2 separate regions of the Homo sapiens genome follow, and region 2 is linked to region 1. The links are contacts of gene promoters, found by promoter capture Hi-C in human tissues and cell types (Jung and others, 2019). All regions are on one chromosome and are shown on one strand. Each heading gives the region's core, a stretch centred on a gene start or on the middle of the fragment in contact. The rest is flanking DNA. Distances are from core to core; before and after follow the strand shown.

Region 1 (6,216 bases), core at 1,461-3,960:
GGTGTGAGCCACCACGACCGGCCCATTTGGACACTTAATACTGGTTCAGCAGAACTGAATGAATTTAATTGGAGAGGAAGTTGGGGTGAAGTCTAGGCCTCTGACTATAATGAGAGGTTTGGCACTGAGGGGAGGCAACAGAACAGGGAGTACAAATTAGGATGAATTAATGACATGCTGGCAGGAGCTTGAGTAAAGGAAGAAGAGCAGAGGGCCAGGGCCTGAAGTTTGGGTGTCTTACCACAGAGCTAAAGAAGAGTGGGCAATGGTAGACTAAACTAGAGAAGAAGAGGAGAGAAAGGCACAGAGGAACTTCAGCAACGGAATGCCAGGGAAGGCAAGGGAGCTGAGGGTTTGGGCAGTTGCATCCAGTGTAGGGAAGAAGATCAGGGAGATAGACAGGCAAAAAGCCATGGCAACAAGGAAGTAGTTAGGGACTTTCAGAGGAAGTATGAGAAAAGGAGAGGAAGGTCATAGGTCTGAAGTTTAGCAGTGCAGTAGGGGGCACTGGAATACTATCTTGGGGGTATGAGTGAGTGCTTTTTCAGGGGTCCTACTTGGGAGAAACATAGATAGACATTCATTTAATATTCATCCATTTCTTTCCAGCATAGTCATCATTCTGACATCATCTAAAAGAAATTAGTATCTGCATTGCATCCTTAAAGAAGAAGGGACAAAAGACATGTCCAAACTGTCTGTCTGTTCTAGTGGAATAAAACATTAATTTAATATGTATTTTGGACAACCACCAACCTAGAGATTGGAAACTTTTCTCAAGGATATATCTCTCTGTATGTGGGCTACTGGCTTTGTGGCTTTTCTGTAGGAAAATTAAAATTCTAGTTTTGTTCTCCCTTATCACCCAGTGTCTGTGTGGCTTAACTGGCTGATTAGCGCGTGCTTGGAATGTGTAAATTCATTTTAACATTGGCCTAGGGGCCTGTGTGGTAGCTCACCCCTGTCATCCCAGCACTTTGGGAGGCCAAGGCAGGGGGATCACTTGAGGCCAGGAGTTCCAGACCAGCCTGGGCAACATAGCAAGACTGTGTCTCTACCAAAAAAAAAAAAAAAAAAAAAATTAGCCAAAGCAGGGTGACACTCACCTGTAGTCCCAGCTATTCAGGAGCTTGAGGTGGGAGGATCACTTCGGCCCAGGAGTCTGAGGCTGGAGTGAGCTATGATTGAGCCACTGCACTCCACTGCACAGAGTCAGACCTTGTCTCTGAAAAACAAAAACATTTGCCTAGGTAAAATGTATCGAGGAAGACAAATTTTAAAATTACTCATTCCAGGCCAGGTGCGGTGGCTCACACCTGTAATCCCAGTACTTTGGGAGGCTGAGGTGGGCGGATCATGAGGTCAGGAGTTCAAGACCAGCCTGGCCAATATGGTGAAACACCGTCTCTACTAAAAATACAAAAATTAGCCGGCTGTGGTGGCGCATGCCTGTAGTCCCAGCTACTCGGGAGGCTGAGGCAGAAGAATCACTTCAACCGGGAGGCGGAGGTTGCAGTGAGCCGAGATCGCGCCTCTGCACTCCAGCCTGGGTGACAGGGTGAGACTCTGTCTTAAAAAAAAAAAAAAAAAATTAGTCATTCCAAAGTCCAATGTCAGACATAGATTATCCGTTGTTTTGGATGTAATCCTCTTCCTGGAAAACTGGCACAACCCAATTACACATGAAATCCTTTCAACTCTGGTATTGGAGGTATAGGGAAGGACTTTGTTTTAGGAGACCCATAGTCTACCTCTATTGTTCTAGGAGTTAAACCACGTTGGTTTACATCCTGACTTTGCCACCTGTCAACTCAGACCTTGGGCAAATCAAAGGTCTGAGGGAGGAGTGCAGGCTCCCAGCGTTCCCACGGGGGTGGGGACGTGACGTATTCATCAGTTCATGAAGTTAATGATATGTATTGAAAAGGTTTGTTCAAGGATTTAAATAAGACGATGAATATATTGAATTAATAATGAATGCAAGGCCTTAAAGGTGTTTTGAGGGTGGTGAAACTTGAATCTCTCATCAACTGTGCAATAGTTATATTAACTTGGATGGCTATGAGTTTTGCAGAGGAAAGCTGGGCTTAAATCCCAATGCTAGACCTGGTGGCTAGACCTTGATTGCCACCGGGTCTAGCATTGGGATTTAAGCGACCTCTAAAAAAAAAAAATCACGGAATCTCTCTTTGGCCTTCCTTTTTTGTTTCTCAGCAGTCTACCAAGCTACGAAGAACCTGAAAATCGGAGGTCGTGTACCTTATTTTTTCTGAGAGCTTAAGCTGAGAGCACAGCCTCCCCAGGAGATTAGCGGCAGAGATCCGCGCGCTGGGAGAAAGGCTAGCCCCAGGGCGCCCTAACTTCCAACTCCGGGAGCAATCCAAACCCGGAGGCCGGCGGGGGAGGGGACAGCTGTAGGGGGCGGTGGGGATGGGAGTGGATGCTCCCGGGTCAGCTCTGGCACTCGCCAGCTGAGCCCAGCGCCAGTCTAGGTGAGCCCCACGGCGGTGAGGGACGCTCGCCAGACGGCCCAGAGGAGTTAGATGACGTCACCTCCAGGAGGACTCGCTTTTTCATTAATGAAACCGGCCGGCGCGGGCGCATGCGCGGCAGGCCGCCTTCCCTCTCGCTTCCCCCTCCCCTTTCCCAGCCGCGCTCTCAATCTCTAGCTCGCTCGCGCTCCCTCTCCCCGGGCCGTGGAAAGGATCCCACTTCCGGTGGGGTGTCATGGCGGCGTCTCGGACTGTGATGGCTGTGGGGAGACGGCGCTAGTGGGGAGAGCGACCAAGAGGCCCCCTCCCCTCCCCGGGTCCCCTTCCCCTATCCCCCTCCCCCCAGCCTCCTTGCCAACGCCCCCTTTCCCTCTCCCCCTCCCGCTCGGCGCTGACCCCCCATCCCCACCCCCGTGGGAACACTGGGAGCCTGCACTCCACAGACCCTCTCCTTGCCTCTTCCCTCACCTCAGCCTCCGCTCCCCGCCCTCTTCCCGGCCCAGGGCGCCGGCCCACCCTTCCCTCCGCCGCCCCCCGGCCGCGGGGAGGACATGGCCGCGCACAGGCCGGTGGAATGGGTCCAGGCCGTGGTCAGCCGCTTCGACGAGCAGGTAACCGGCCCGTGGCGGGCGGGAGGTGGGAGCGGAGTGGGGGTGGGGACAGAGTAGGTGAGGGGAGGTAGGAGCGGCCGCCTCCCCCGCGGCTGCCTCAGGCTCTGGAGGAAAGGAAGGGAAGGGAAGAGAAGGGAAGGGGGGATAAGTGGGGGTGGCCAAGGCGGGAGGTGAGGGGTAGGAGGGGACAGCTGGGAGCTTGGGCACCCTTTCCCTCCTAAGTCGGGGGGTGGGGCCTTGTCCCTGACCAGCCTCCGACCCTCCATCCCCTTTATCCCAGCCCTTCCGCTTGGAAATGGGGATGAGTGACCTGGGGGCGCCTTTAGGGGCGCGCCATCTGGATTTAATAATTACCCCCTTACTTTTGTTTTTGAGCAGAGGTGGGTAACGTTTAGGGGTTCTCTCTTCCTCTTCCCTCCGTGACCCTCCTAACTGGGGACGAGCGAACCCTAAGGCCTGTCTTATATACCCTCAATAGGAGAACGATAACATTCCGCCCCTCCCCCAGTTTCTTCAGCTTCCTCTCCTGGAGGGGGAAGAGCAGAAGAAAGCAAGGAAGGCACAGGTTTTCTTACTTTCTGCTCCATCGTCTCATCCTGCCCCGAGAGCTTCAAGTGCACACTCACTGCACATCTTTGTGATGCCCTACAACGTCGTCCCCCATATCCTGATGACACAGACTGCCTTTTTTTTTTATTGCCGTTTGCAGTGGAAACCGTGGTTCTGAAATATCTTCCCCTTCCTTGATAATTGCAGTCTCTTCCCCCCCCCCTTTTTTTTTTGCCAGCGGTCTGAGGATGTGATGCATTCTCGAGTGAGAATGTTGGGGAGTAAAGGGGAGAAGGGTGAAAGGAAAGTGAGAAACTGCTTCAGAGCCACCGACAACAGAGCAAAGCCAGCTGGGATGTGGTCCTGGAGCGGATCATTCTGCTAGTGTTTGTGGTTGTTTTTGACTCTCTCCTGGTTGACAAGAGAACTTTCATTGAGAATATTTGGGATGAAAAAAAAGTTTTGTAGCTTGAGGAGGTGACTTTTTATCGCCTGAGTTTCACACAATAAATCCTGGGGCTGATTAGAATAAATGCACACATAGCCTTTTGTCAGTGGAAATTGGTTTAACTTTGTGTTGCTGTAGGTAGTTGGGGATGGTTTAAGGGATGCTTTCTGCAGCTGTGGGTGCAGTGGGCTTCCTGTGATGGGGGAATTGTTTAAGATTGAGTCAACCTATTTTGTTTACTGGATATAATGGTAAAACATTATGGGAGCTGAAGGGGTGGGGGAAGAGCTCTTCTGTTATTTGATGCATAAACATTTCTTTACGGGACTCAGCGTTTCAGACCTACCTGGAAAATATCTTGGAATAGACAGAGGAAGTTGAGAAGAAGCTATGTAGATAAAATAGAGTTATGAAGCTGTCAGAGACTTGAAGGAATTGTTTTATCCATTCGTATGCTTCCAGACCCAAAGGCATCTAAACTAAACTACTAATCCATCTGAAGTATAATGTTACTGCATATAAAAGATTACATTATTGATAGAGCGTTAGATTTAAAACTTGGTAGAAAAGACTCTGTAATTTTAAGAAAGGATTTAAAAGGCACATAGAAGACTTCCAAAGCTGAACCTTGTGGACAGCAGAATCTGGATGTAGGAAATTGAAGGATCCACGCCGCAATTCTCCTTAAATTTTAAAAATTAAAAATTTTTTTCAGTTTTTTCTTAATTTTATTTTTTTACTTCTTACCTGTTCATCTCTAGGCTTATTTGCCATATTGGAAAAAGATACTTAAGAGAGGAATGATTTTGGGCTGGGCGCGGTGGCTCACGCCTGTAATCCCAGCACTTTGGGATGCCAAGGCAGGTGGATCACCTGAGGTCAGGAGTTTGAGACCAGCCTGACCAACATGGAGAAACCTCGTCTCTACTAAAAATACAAAAATTAGCTGGGCATGGTGGCGGGCGCCTGTAATCCCAGCTACTCGGGAGGCTGAGGCAGGAGAATTGCTTGAATCCGGGAGGTGGAGGTTGCAGTGAGCTGAGATCACACCACTGCACTCTAGCCTGGGCGACAGAGCGAGACTCTTGTCTCCAAAAAAAAAAAAAAAAAAAAAGGAGGAATGATTTTGATTATATACCCAGTAAAGCAAGAAAGTGTTTCTCCTTCTGTCCCTAGCTTTAAAAGACCTTAAGGCTTCGTTGTTTGTTATGCATATTGTGGAATCAAACTCACCACCATCTGTTAAAAATTAAGGACATTAGTTTTTAAAACAGCATTTTTCTGCATTCCTTATGTTGTAATTAAGAGAAAGATATATAGGAGAGATTATTCCTCACTTTTTTTTTTTGAGACAAGGTCTTGCTCTGTCGCCCACGCTGGAGTGCAGTAGCTTGATGTCGGTTCATTGCAACCCCTGCTTCCCACATTCACGTGATTCTCCTGCTTCAGTCTCCCAAGTAGCTGGGATTACAGGTGTGCACCATCGTGCCTGGCTAATTTTTGTATTTTTAGTAGAGACGGGGGTTTCACCATGTTGGTCAGGCTGGTCTTGAACTCCTGACCTCAGGTGATCTGCCCCCCACCCCCTGCTCGGCCTCCCGAAGTGCTGGGATTACAGGCATGAGCCACTGTGCCTGGCCTATTCCTCACATTTTTCTCTTAGAAAGTTAAAGTCTCTGACCTTGAGATACAAAAATGTAAGGGTTTTCAGTGTTTAACATAAGGTACTTATATATATTATATATAGTATATATATAAAATAAATTAATATATTAATTTATTATATAAGTGATAAATGTTTAATTCAAATTAGAGTTCACCTTACGGTTGAAAATGTCTTTTAGTCAGAAAACTGAGGCATGGGAAGGTTAAGTGACATAGATCTAATAAGAGCTTCAGTATGAAAAGTAGTGAATGCTTGACCATCAGGGAGATACTTTTCCTAAGTATCCCATAAAATTTGTTCTAATCCATTAAATATATTTAGAAGACTTTATTTTATTTTTTTTATTTTTGAGACGGAGTTTCATGATTCTTGCCTAGGCTGGAGTGCAATGATGCGACCTTGGCTTACTGCAACCTCTGCCTCCTGGGTTCAAGTGATTCTCCTGCCTCA
Region 2 (6,216 bases), core at 2,437-4,936, 1.2 Mb after region 1:
TATCAGTACCTCGGCCAGGGTCTGGCACATAATGGACACTCAGCACGTGTGAGCTGAATGGCACTGCTGAGCTGTCGCCAACTTAATCTTCCTAAAATGCTGCTCCAGTTAGAAGCCATCACCGCTTCTCTATCTCCCACTGGGCGAGGTCCAACCTCCTCAGACTGGCACTCGGGGACTCTGGCGACACAGTGCTCCTCGCCTGCCCGGCCATCCTCACTTTGTGCTCAGCCACTTCATGGTTCCCAACACAGTCAACAGCTTTCCTATCTCTGTGTCTTTGCCGCAGCAGTTCCCTCCACCTAGAAACCCTTCCACGTTCTCTACCACAAGCTTGCCCCTTTCAAGGCTCATCTCAACATCATGCTCCTGCCCTTCTAAACCGAGTTTGATCCACCCTTCCCCAGCCCTTCATCCTGCTCTGCGTTGACTTCAAGTGTCTTGTTAGGAACCTTAAAAGAGGCCATGGTGTAGCGCACTTGCAAAATGAAGAGCAAGGAAGAAGTGCCAATAGGCCCAGTTCCGTGTCACTTCTCATTAGCGCCAAAGGTTCTCCCAGGGAGGGGCCTCTGCATGGCACACCTCCAGGCATCGACGAGTGCCTGCCTGCTGCAGCTGGTCAGTGAAAGTGACACCATGCCTACTCCCTCCTCTGCCCCCAAAATGCCACAGAATATGCCAGTCCTTAGGCTGTCTCAGGTGAGAGTAGAACAAAAGGTGTCAGGGTGCCTAGCCACTCCTATCCCCTGGAGCTTTCTAGGCCTGGACCCCAGGCCCCATGTCCTACTGCCTGCTCGGGAGTGGGTTGCAGATTCGCCTGGAGCTGAGGGGCAGAGTGGTCTGACCAGCTGGGCGTAGGTGACATTGAGGACAACAGGTAAAGGGTGGCCTCAGGCTCATGGAGGATGATGGATGTAACAACTTGTCCTAACAGTCTCCAAGTCCAGACACCATCACCTCCCAGCAAGGGCCAAGGTGAGAGAAGCTGCCCCGTGAAGCAAGAATCCTGGTGAGAGATCAGGAATTCCTTCTTAGGAGACTTTTGGAAACATAGCCTGCCAAGGCGGGGTAAATGTTCCTAGGGACAGAAGGAGGAACAAGATAGCCTTCTGGATGTTTCCCATCTTCCCTCTCCCTTTTATTCTAACTGCTGCCGCCCTTGTGACCTCTTCCTTGGACAGCACCTCTCATGGCCCTCTGCTCAGGCCAACCTCCCTCCTGTCTAGACTCTACACTACAGCCAAAGGGATCTTTTTTGTTTGTTTTGAGACGGAGTCTCACTCTGTCGCCCAGGCTGGAGTGCAGTGGCAGATCTCGGCTCACTGCAAGCTCCGCTTCCTGTGGTCAAGTGATTCTCCTGCCTTAGCCTCCCGAGTAGCTGGGATTACAGGCGCCCACCACCACGCCCGGCTAATTTTTTGTATTTTTTTAGTAGAGACAGGGTTTCAACGTGTTAGCCAGGACGGTCTCGATCTCCTGACCTCGTGATCCGCCCGCCTTGGTCTCCCAAAGTGCTGGGATTACAGCCGTGAGCCACCGCGCCTGGCCAGGGATCTTTTAAATATTACTCTACTGCTCACAATCCTTCAATGGCTCCCTATTGCCCTTAGGTAAAGTCCAAGCTCTTTTCCCATGAAACTCACAGCCCCTCACAACCTTCCCGTCCAGGCTGGGCTCTTTAGATTGGTCATCGTGCTCCAGTTTCCAGCCATGCCAAACTGCTTGTCGTTTGCCTCCCATATGATGCTGCTCCACAAGCCTGGTCGTGCTGTTCCCTCTACCTGGAACACCTCCTTCACCTTTTCCATGTTGCCTAGTTCTGGAGGCTTATCCTTTGGGAAGCCTTCCTGGACCCACAGCGACCCCCTCCTTTGGAGTTCTACACCTTCTGGGCTTCCCTTGAATCCAGGACTTACCCTTGTGTTGAATGTGACTGTCACCCCCAATTATCCATTTCTGGAGGGCAGGGTCTGGTTCTTATCCACCTCTGTATTCTCAAAGCTCTGTCATTGGTACTTAGTAGGAGCTTAATACATGTTCAGGAACAGAACTGAGCCTGCTAAGCTCCCTTCCCCACGAAGGGATGACAGAGTTGGATATGTTGATAAGAGCTGTCCCTGGGCTGATGAAGAGGCAGCTCCCTGGGTAGCTGGTATCAGAACACTGTCCAGGGTGGCTGGGCATCCCAGCAGAGTGGCCAACCCTTTTCTGTGCCCTTCTCCTTCCAGTTCCCCTGGAACCAGACTTCCTGGCCCACTTCTCTAGTCCCAGAGATCTAAGTATAACAGAGCCAACACCCATACCGGTCATGCAAATGACAGCCTGGGATGCGGGAGGCAGCGACACAGACCCCAGGGCCCCAGCGGTCATTTGTCCTTCTGGGCTCCTCTTCACAAAGGAATCAGCCTCTCTTCTGTCCCCTGAAGGCTGTTTTCAAAATCACACCCCATGCAGACAGTTTTATTTACAAGGAAATCTTGGCAGGATCTTGACTTGTTAGTAGAGTAGGGATGGGGAGGAGGGTGGTGAGAAACAAAAATAGTTGAAATGATCACACTTTCTGAAACAGAGATGAAAATTGGTGTCTGTAGCAAACTCACCTAATTAGAATCAAGTGAATTCCCTTCTCGGTGTTTAAGGGGAGCAGTCATTGCTGGGTGATGGTCGCAGTTCGGATCCTGGGCACGGGGTTATGTCTTTGCTTTCTGAAGATGACTGCATTAGTTGCAGCTCTCACTAATGGAAAGGAGCCTGTTCCGTTTCCCAGAGGAAGGAAGAGGGCAAAGACTAGTGAGTGAGTGGGTGGTGGGAAGAGGAAAGCAAGAGGAGTGGAAGGGCACAGCCTTGGTGTGGGCTGGGGACTGACTGCGAGATGCCTCCTGGAGAAGCTCCTGAGCCTCTGGGGAGAGCTGGCCCCTGCCAGGCCGGCCACTAGCACCATTTACAGCCAGAGCCTCTGCTTCGGGAGATGGTCTCTCTTGGGGGCGCTTTCCTGCAGGGAAACAGCATCGATTGTTTTCTTTAAAAGATCCCCTACTCCGTTTTGGCTAACTTCCTTTCTGATTGCTTTAGTTTCTTTACCGTCCCTCTCCCCAGATGGGGCATTTCCCTGGGCTTACCTTTGTCCATGTGGTCAAATGAAGCCTGGGCATGGTCACTTAGCTCTGGGTGTAGGAAGGGCAAGATTTAGGCTTTGGGGCCCACGACCCCGCAATCTGACTTCTCCCATTTCTGGGCCTCCCGAGACCTCCCAGAATCTGAGACCGCAGTGAATAGGGCGTAAGGATAATGGGGCGGGAGGCAGGAATCCCGTCCTTACAACATCGCGCCCCCAATTCACTCCTAGTTAACCCTGACGTCGCCAACATAGTGTCTCCATCACATATCTGCCACCTCCAAGTGATGGTTAAGCCGATGGAAGAGCCAAGCCCGGGCCCGGAGTGCAGGCCGGTGGTGACCGGGCCGGGGACGGCGCAGTCCCCATCCCCGCCCCGGGCAGCGCCACCACTTCCTCGCCAGCCCCGCCGCAGCCCTCCCGCTCCCGGGCCGCGCCGCTCTGACCGACTGGGCCCGGGTGGCGGCGCCCGGGGTGGGGTGCGGGGCGGGGGCCGGCGTTCCCCGCGAGCAGCCCCGCCCCCGCCCGCGCGCCGCCCCCGAGGACTCCGCGGGGAGGAGGAGACTCGGGCGCAGAGCGGGGGCCGCGAGAAGCGGGAAGGGAGCGCGGGGAGCGGCGGGGCCGGGGCCGGCCCAAGGGCGCCCTCGCCTCGGAGCCGGGCGCGAGGGCCGGGGCGGAGGCGGAGGCCGGCGGGGCAGCTAGCGCAGTGAAGTTTGGCGGCGGAGGGGCCGGGCGTCCCGGGGTCGCGAGGAGGCGGCGGCGGCGCGGGGACCGGGGCCATGGGGGCGGGCGCGGGCTGCGGAGCGGGCGCGGAGGCGGCGCGGCGCGCACTGAGCCCCTGGAGCGGCGCGGCCGCCGCGGCGCAAAGTTAGCCCGGCGCCCCGGGACGAGCCCCGCAGCCGCCGCCGCCCCCGGACCCCGTCTCGGCCATGGGCGAGCACCCCAGCCCGGGCCCCGCGGTGGCCGCCTGCGCCGAGGCGGAGCGCATCGAGGAGCTGGAACCCGAGGCCGAGGAGCGGCTGCCCGCGGCGCCGGAGGACGTGAGTGCCCCCTCCCCGCCCGGCAAACTTTCTAGGGGGCGCCGGGGGGAAAAGCCGCCCCTGTCTCGCCCCACGCCGGGCAACTTGGAGGTTTCAGGGTGACGCGGGAGCGCCCCGGATTGGCCGGGTCCCCGCGGGCAGGAGGGGGCGGAGGGACCGGTCTCCCCGAAACGCGCGCGCACCGCTTCCCCCGCTCTGGTTCCCGCGGCTTCCCTGCGGGACACAGCACCGCCACTGCGCCGCGGACCTGTCACCGCCGGAGCCCCCTCCCCGCCGCTGGTGCAGTGCCCGGGACACGGCGTTTTCCCGCAGAGGCGGCCGCGTCACGGCGGTGACTCCCCCTCCCCTCACGCCCGCGACCTGCGAGCTCCCGGAGCTGGGGAAGGAGCGGACGCCGCAGAGTCCCCGTCCCTGGCCATGCAAGCCGGCCTGGCGACCCCTTCCTCCGCTCCCGGATTAGCTCCCGCCCGGCACCTGCCTTGCCGCGACACTGATTGAAATTCAAGCCGGCCCCCGCCTCTGACCCCGGCCGGAGCAGGGAGGCAAAGAGTGCTGGGAGCGGCTTTGCTCCTAGAAGGAGGCCCGGGAGTCCAAGACCGTGGCGGTGCCAGGGGACGGTCCCCTGGGCGAGGAGAGGGAGGGGCTGCCCCGAGGGCTTCCCCGCCGTCTGCTGCTCGGGTCTCCATCCCTCCGGTCCTGCGGGCCGGCCCTGCGAAGCCCTGGGAACTGGAGTTTCTTGGGTTAACCTCCCGGGGCTAACCTACACATAGGGGTGAAAAACCGGGCAGACACCCTGCCCTGCCCACTCCTCCCTCAGGGTGGGGAGATGGAAGTGAAACCAGGCCCCCAACCCACACAACGAAAGCGGGAAAGTCTGAATGGGGTTGGGGGGTAGTTTACGATCTTCTCTCTTTGGCGTCTGCGGTTAAATCTATCACTTCCTTCTGGCCCTAAACCCCTGGCAGAATCTGATGTAGTCACCACTTAGACTCAGCCTTGGAAGAGAATGGGTGGGCTTCACCGCATTCGGCATTCACCACCCCCCCTTCCCCGCAAAAAAACAAAAAACGAACAAACAAACAAAAAACTGCAGGCAAAATGTTAGTGTTTATGCAGAGGTGAGTTCTCCTGGGGGGGGAGGGGGGGGCTCTAGCTCCCAGCAGGTGAGACTCATTGCGCCGGGGTCTGATGGAATTGCACCTGGCCATGCTCTCCCAGGCCTGGGAGTAGCTGTGGACATAAGCTTTAGGCAGCAGAAATTATTAGAGGCGCTTGGACATATTTGGACGCCTTTATTTAGTAATTGTTGAGAATCACTTGTTCTGCCAGTTCCAGAACCAGCAACACCCACCTTGCCGCCCCCGCCCCCACCCCATCCCTTACTGTGAGTTTCCTCCCTCTGCTCAGTGTGGACTCATTGGGGAGCTCCTCCCAGACTTCCCCTGCTCTCCTGTGGCCAGTCCCTGAGCCTGGTCATGACTCCTGGGCAGCCGCTGGGAGGCTATGTCAGAAACATCCGAGGACTACAGAGACCTTGGTGATAAGTGTGTCTTTCTTTCTCTCCTCTTCTTCCTCTCCTGCATGGCCTCCCTCTCTGCCAGCACTGGAAAGTCCTGTTTGATCAGGTATGTGAGCAGTTAACCCCCCATTTCCTTCCAGCCCTCCCTGAAATCGGTCTCAGTCTCCCTGCTTGCGTGGGCTTCCCTAGCTCCGCGCTCCTGAGATGGTGACGTGGGGTGGGGGTGTGGCTTTGTGCATCTCTAGGGCTGAACGACACTGCTCTCCAGGTATCAGGAGGAAGAGATGGGCTCCCCTGAGAGGATCTCCCTCCTGCCTCCTCCCTACTCTGCTGCACCAGAGCCGGGTTTACACCATGTAGAAATTGGACGTTATATATTGAATGCCTGGGAAATCCTCCATATGCCAGGGGATTGCAGTAGGGGGCTGGAGAGGTGGGGGAAGGGCTTGGGCTGACAATCCCTCTCCGTTTCTACCTCCACTATGGAGGGTCCATGGCCACCGCTGAAGTCAAATCTCTGCCATCCTTGGGGGCTGACTCAC

Evidence for each region. Contacts are between HindIII fragments. The study calls those that stand out against the background at their distance.
Region 2: the fragment with the promoter of RHBDL3 here is called in contact with the fragment with the promoter of NF1 in region 1 in 1 of the 25 tissues and cell types used here (pancreas).

Annotation. Positions count from the first base shown.
Region 1 is chr17:31,092,267-31,098,482 of GRCh38, forward strand. It overlaps NF1 (neurofibromin 1), which reads left to right and starts at 2,711. Exons shown (of 58, transcript NM_001042492.3): 1 at 2,711-3,103. The coding sequence starts at 3,044. It overlaps MIR4733HG (MIR4733 host gene), which reads right to left and starts at 3,224. Exons shown (of 4, transcript NR_186435.1): 1 at 2,961-3,224; 2 at 1,107-1,225. It overlaps MIR4733 (microRNA 4733), which reads right to left and starts at 2,159; the gene lies at 2,084-2,159. It overlaps LOC124903974 (a long non-coding RNA gene), which reads left to right. Exons shown (of 2, transcript XR_007065704.1): 2 at 610-861. RefSeq lists a promoter at 2,291-2,716, cis regulatory regions at 2,324-2,563, 2,790-3,100, an enhancer at 2,704-2,721 and silencers at 2,956-3,025, 3,066-3,115. The HindIII fragment of the contact is 9,958 bases long and covers 1-6,216 here.
Region 2 is chr17:32,262,146-32,268,361 of GRCh38, forward strand. It overlaps RHBDL3 (rhomboid like 3), which reads left to right and starts at 3,687. Exons shown (of 9, transcript NM_138328.3): 1 at 3,687-4,155; 2 at 5,757-5,780. The coding sequence starts at 4,045. It overlaps LOC105371731 (a long non-coding RNA gene), which reads right to left and starts at 3,306. Exons shown (of 3, transcript XR_934665.2): 1 at 3,120-3,306; 2 at 2,601-2,751. The HindIII fragment of the contact is 17,639 bases long and covers 1-6,216 here.